Linked DNA regions of Homo sapiens: region 1 is linked to region 2. The links are contacts of gene promoters, found by promoter capture Hi-C in blood cells and fetal thymus (Javierre and others, 2016). All regions are on one chromosome and are shown on one strand. The core of a region is centred on a gene start or on the middle of the fragment in contact, and the rest is flanking DNA. Distances in the headings are between cores, read along the strand shown.

Region 1 (3,052 bases), core at 359-2,858, 1.2 Mb after region 2:
TATGAAGCCAGCATCATCCTAATACCAAAGCCTGGCAAAGACACACACAAAAAAGAGAATTTTATACCAATATCCCTGATGAACATCAATGTGAAAATCCTCAATAAAATACTGGCAAACTGAATCCAGTAGCACATCAAAAAGCTTATCCACCACGATCAAGTTGGCTTCATCCCTGGGATGCAAGGCTGGTTCAACATACGCAAATCAATAAAAGTAATCCATCACATAAACAGAACGAAAGACAAAAACCACATGATTATCTCAATAGATGCAGAAAAGGCCTTTGACAAAATTCAACAGCCCTTCATGCTAAAAACTCTCAATAAACTCGGTATTCGTGGAATGTATCTCAAAATAATAAGAGCTATTTATGACAAACCCACAGCCAATATCATACTGAATGGGCAAAAACTGGAAGCATTCCCTTTGAAAACTGGCACAAGACAGGGATGCCCTCTCTCAACACTCCTATTCCACATAGTGTTGGAAGTTCTGGCCAGGGCAATCAGGCAAGAGAAAGAAATAAAGGGTATTCAGATAGGAAAAGAGGAAGTCAAATTGTCCCTGTTTGCAGATGACATGATTGTATATTTAGAAAACCCCATCATCTCAGCCCAAAATCTCCTTAAGCTGATAAGCAACTTCAGCAAAGTCTCAGGATACAAATTCAATGTGCAAAAATCACAAGCATTCCTCTACACCAATAACAGACAAACAGAGAGCCAAATCATGAGAGAACTGCCATTCACAATTGCTTTGAAAAGAATAAAATACCTAGGAATCCATCTTACAAGGGATGAGACGGACCTCTTCAAGGAGAACTACAAACCACTGCTCAACAAAATAAAAGAGGACACAAACAAACGGAAGAACATTCCATGCTCATGGATAGGAAGAAACAATAGTGTGAAAATGGCCATACTGCCCAAGGTAATTTATAGATTCAATGCCATCCCCATCAAGCTACCAATGACTTTCTTCACAGAATGGGAAAAAACTACTTTAAAGTTCATATGGAACCAAAAAAGAGCCTGCATTGCCAAGACAATCCTAAGCAAAAAGAACAAAGCTGGAGGCATCATGCTACCTGACTTCAAACCATACTACAAGGCTACAGTAACCAAAACAGCATGGTACAAAAGAGAGATACAGACCAATGGAACAGAATAGAGGCCTCAGAAATAACACCACACATCTACAACCATCTGATCTTTGACAAACCTGACAAAAACAAGAAATGGGGAAAGGATTCCCTATTTAATAAATGGTGCTGGGGAAATTGGCTAGCCATATGTAGAAAGCTGAAACTGGATCCCTTCCTTACACCTTATACAAAAATTAATTCAAGATGGATTAAAGACTTAAATGTTATACCTAAAACCATAAAAACCCTAGAAGAAAACCTAGGAAATACCACTCAGGACATAGGCATGGGCAAGGACTTCATGACTAAAACACCAAAAGCAATGGCAACAAAAGCCAAAATAGACAAATGGGATCTAATTAAACTAAAGAGCTTCTGCACAGCAAAAGAAACTACCATCAGAGTGAACAGGCAACCTACAGAATGGGAGAAAATTTTTGCAATCTACCCATCTGACAAAGGGCTAATATCCAGAATCTACAAAGAACTTAAATTTACAAGAAAAAATCAAACAACCCCATCAAAAAGTGGGCAAAGTATATGAACAGACACTTTTCAAAAGAAGACATTTATGCAGCCAACAGACACATGAAAAAATGCTTATCATCACTGGTCATCAGAGAAATGCAAATCAAAACCATAATGAGATACCATCTCACACCAGTTAGAATGGCAATCATTAAAAAGTCAGGAAACAACAGGTGCTGGAGAGGATGTGGAGAACTAGGAACACTTTTACACTGTCAGTGGTAGTGTAAACTAGTTCAACATTGTGGAAGACAGTGTGGTGACTCCTCAAGGGCCTAGAACTAGAAATACCATTTGACCTAGCGATCTCATTACTGGGTATATACCCAAAGGATTATAAATCATGCTACTATAAAGACACATGCACAGGTATGTTTATTTTGGCACTATTCACAATAGCAAAGACTTGGAACCAACCCAAATGTCCATCAATGATAGACTGGATTAAGAAAATGTGGCACATACACACCATGGAATACTATGCAGCCATCAAAAAGGATGAGTTCATGTCCTTTGTAGGGAATGGATGAAGCTGGAAACCATCATTCTGAGCAAATTGTCGCAAGGACAGAAAACCAAACGCTGCATGTTCTCACTCATAGGTGGGAATTGAACCATGAGAACACTTGGACACAGGGTGGGAAACATCACACACTGGGGCCTGTCATGGGGTGGGGGGTTGGCGGAGGGATAGCATTAGGAGAAATACCTAATGTAAATAACGAATTAATGGGTGCAGCAAACCAACATGGCACTTGTATACATATGTAACAAACCTGCACATTGTGCACATGTACCCTAGAACTTAAAGTATTATAAAACAAAAAGTATAGACAAATCTTATTCAATCTTGAGTTCAGAAGATAGTTATATCGGGTTTCATTATAGTATTCTTGCTATTTTTGTATATGTTGGAATTATTTACAACAAATGTTAATTGTATGTTACAGTGCATCAAAATGTGTTTAAGTAGTGGTGGTGCTTGTGGGTAGCTCTTTCACTATAATAAAAAATCAATATCCAAAAAAAAAAAAAAAAAGCAGCGCAAGCTCGTTCAATGAACTCTTACCATCATTCATTCAGCCAACAAATATTTACTCAACATCAGGCTCAATTTCTAACTTCCTAGAAAGATCTTTTTTCCCATCCCTCCCCTAATTCTTACCATTTTACCAACTGGTTCATCTCTCTTTTCAATAGCTATATTGTCCCCGCTTATAATGAGAATCTCATTTTGCCTTTAATAATCTGATTCACCTCAACGAATGTGAAAGATTGTTGAGGAAAGCTCAATACATGTTCAATTTGATGTTTATACCGAGTCCACCACCACACGTGAAATTTAATAGGGGTAAATAATCTCGACCACCTCTAAAG
Region 2 (3,524 bases), core at 340-2,839:
CTGTCTCTACTAAAAAAAAAAAAAAAAAAAATAGCCAGGCATGGTGGTGCATGCCTGTAGTCCCAGCTACTTGGGAGGCTGAGGCAGGAGAATCGCTTGAACCTGGGAGGTGGGGGTTGCAGTGAGCCAAGATTGTGCCACTGCACTCCAGCCAAGCGACAGAGTGAGACTCTGTCTCAAAAAAAAAAAAAAAGAAAAGAAAAGAAAAGAAAGAAGATTTGATGGAAGACAATTTGGAAAGTGTTGTAAGGTCCACGGACTCTACTCACAAAGTCTCCCAAACTTGCTTGCTGATAGGAATGGACACGCTGGTTACATAAGCTAATCCCAGGTGCCCGATCCCCGGAAATTCTGATTCAGTGTTTCCTAATGGACCCTGGGAGTCTGCACCTTTAATAACACATTCTAGGCTCCAGGTAAGTGTGGTGATCAGGCAAGTTTGAATTTAGCAAAGGAATACAGGATGCAGTACTCCTGTCCAGCAGGACTCAGATTTCTGGTTTCTGATTCTAGATCTGACGCTATTCCACTTGGGCAAGCAGTTGCACCTTTCTGAACCTTTTTACTCATCTGTATACCTGTTCAATATAACCTACAGGTAGGTCTATGGTGGACCGAAGGCAAATTATATTTGGGGTGAAGGGGCTCCTGATCTTAGTATTTTATGTTGTCGTAATGTGGATTAATTAGACATAATTAATTTATTAACAATTAATTAATTAGACATAAGCAAAATTGAGATTGAAGGGGGTGTTGGCAGATCATCATTTTGGCTGAGGACATGAGAAACACACTGGAAATGCTTTGTGATAAAATTAACTGAATATTAATTGTAGGACTGTGCCTTGTCTATCCTGCTACCTAGAGCCACTGAGCTTTGCAATCCTCTTAGGAGTGTGGCTTACCTTTAGGTGGTCACCCTCAACTACTCTGGTCACACTGAGAGCTGTGAAAACCTCGAGAAAAGTTAAAAACATACATGTTGGGAGACAGGGGGTTTGGATGAGGGCCCTAAATTCGATGTTTAAGCCTAGGGTCCTTACTGGCGAACACTTTCAGTAATGTCTGTGTGCAACAGAAACATTTCTCTTGGCATTAAAAAAAAAAAAAGAAAGAAAGAAAGGATGTATTCCCTTAGCTTCAGGTGGCATTCACGAAGTTGACAGAGCCAGAACACCTCCTAACTGGGGAGTTTCGGGACCTTTAGGGCGCAGAGACTGCCTGACCTCGTCGTGGGCGTAAATCAAGCTTCCCCAGCGCTTAACTTTACAATTTTCAGCTTACGCTTGGCTGCAGCTGCGCACAATCCGCGCAGAAGCAGGGGTTCCGCTGACAAACGTGAACGTACAGAACGTAGAAACCTTTTAACGCTAATATGCAGTTTCCCTGTATGGCTGTTGTGCATTATTAATCTAGGTATTGCGTATTTAGTTTAGGAAACACGAATACTACATGATAAATGAGGTAAAATGGATTGTGACTGGGACCTCAGCTTCTCCGTCGCCTCCACTCCTCCCAGCTCAGGAAAGACCAGCCCACCAAGACGTGCGTCCTCCGCGTTTGAGTCGCTTCGGCACCCGTAGTTGTGAACTTTGACAGCGGCTGGTCCCCGGAAGTTGGACGCATGCGCCGTTTCTCTGCATGGTGTGCGTTCTCGTTCTAGCTGCGGCCGCAGGAGCTGTGGCGGTTTTCCTAATCCTGCGAATATGGGTAGTGCTTCGTTCCATGGACGTTACGCCCCGGGAGTCTCTCAGTATCTTGGTAGTGGCTGGGTCCGGTAAGTATCGAGGAGGCGACTGTCGGACTTGGGTTGGTCACTACAAACCCCAGAGTGCACCGCGACGCTCTTCCCTGGTACCCTTAGCACTTCTTGGAGTGTTGCATGCAGAGATTTGTAGTTTCTCTGCCTTGCCGGAACCGGGCAGTCCAGCCAGGGTAGGGGCTGGTTTGCTGACGCGGCCCAGAGGTTTTTTTTATGACAAGTAATTTACACTTGTCTATAATTAAGACTCTCTGTAGCGTATATTTTTCAAACAATTAGTGAACAGAGAACGTAGAAGCCTTTTGATGCAAACATGCAGTTTCCCCGTATGGCTGTTGTGCATTATTAATCTAGGTATTGCGTATTTAGTTTAGGAAACACGAATGCTACATGACAAATGAGGCAAAATGAATTGTCACATTTATAAATATACAAAGTCCAAGAGGATAAAAACAATGATCTACGGGCTGTAGAACAATACACACGCGGTGGCAGAGTGTGAGCAACACACTGACCTGTCAGGTAATACAATCTAAATCCACCAACTCTGTAGGTGCTTACAATTTTAAATACACATATTTGACAGGGACAGACAGACACACACAGACACAATGTAAACATTTGGGTATGGCAGGAGATTGCATCCAGATAGAACATGTATAGTATGAGTAAATGTACTAAGTTTATGTTCAAGTATAACGCATTACTTTATTCACTTAATCTGTTTTGAGCTGTTAGAAAGACCAAACACTAAACTAACCTCTGGAAATAACAAAACTGACTAACATTACTTGCCACGGAGTGCTGACTCCGTGCTAAGTCCTGTGAGAGATGCAAAGATACAGCAGTAAATGAAATAGAGAATACAAAAAAACTAACAGAAAATAAATCAAAATGAGTATTTGCCACAATGAGATAAATGCTATAATCTTGTAATAATTGTGTAAGAAGTACAAATTGCTATGGCAGTCTTCAGGAAGGGCACTACTTTATCAGGTCTTAAAAAACAGACAGCTTCCTGGAAGAAATGATGCTAAACTGAAACTTGAAAGATGACCCAGAATTAGTCAGATGAGGGACAGCCAGGGTTTCGAGGGCTGGGAGGATGTGAAAAGAAGGTGATAACACTTGGAATGACCAGAGTTGAGAGAACACTATCGTGTAGAGTTCAATGTAGGGAGGTAAACTGAGTCCAGATTGTAAAGAGTATTTAAAATCTTGCTTTTTTTCTTTTTTATACAGAGTCTCACGCTGTTGCCCAGGCTGGAGGGCAGTGGCGCAGTCTCAGCTCACTGCAACTCCACCTCCCAAATTCAAGCCATTCTCCTGCCTCAGCCTCCCGAGTAGCTGGGATTACAGGCGCACCACCACACTCAGCTAATTTTTGTATTTTTAGTACAGACAGTGTTTCACCATGTTGACCAAGGCTGGTCTTGAACTTCCGACCTCAAGTGATCCTCCTGCCTCAGCATCCCAAAGTGCTGGGGTTGCAGACGTGAGCCACCCCTGGCCTAAAATCCTGCTTTATAAAGCAATTGCTGCTACTCCACTGTTGATATCATGTAGGGGTTAAGACCACAGGCCTCTAGGTTGTCATAACACCACACATGAATCACATTTCTGCCACTTACTACCTTGGGGATCTCAGGCAATTAGTTAACCTCGCTGAACCTTCTGTTTCTACATGGGTTGAGAGAGGACAGGAGAGATTAAATAGGATCATATTTAAAGTGTTTAGGCCGGGCGTGATGGTTCACACCTG

Evidence for each region. Contacts are between HindIII fragments. The CHiCAGO score rates a contact against its expected background, and 5 or more counts as called.
Region 1: a contact is called between a fragment that was not itself captured here and the fragment with the promoter of ALG14 in region 2, in 3 of 17 cell types (activated CD4 T cells, naive CD8 T cells and total CD8 T cells). The highest score is 8.6, in activated CD4 T cells.

What each region holds. Positions count from the first base shown.
Region 1 is chr1:93,910,187-93,913,238 of GRCh38, reverse strand. The region is part of intron 1 of LOC124904221 (a long non-coding RNA gene); the gene reads right to left. Among named protein-coding and RNA genes, the nearest start is that of GCLM, 2.3 kb to the right of the region's middle. The HindIII fragment of the contact is 2,924 bases long and covers 147-3,052 here.
Region 2 is chr1:95,071,016-95,074,539 of GRCh38, reverse strand. It overlaps ALG14 (ALG14 UDP-N-acetylglucosaminyltransferase subunit), which reads left to right and starts at 1,589. Exons shown (of 4, transcript NM_144988.4): 1 at 1,589-1,777. The coding sequence starts at 1,642. RefSeq lists enhancers at 1,468-1,827, 2,068-2,147. The HindIII fragment of the contact is 2,572 bases long and covers 1,251-3,524 here.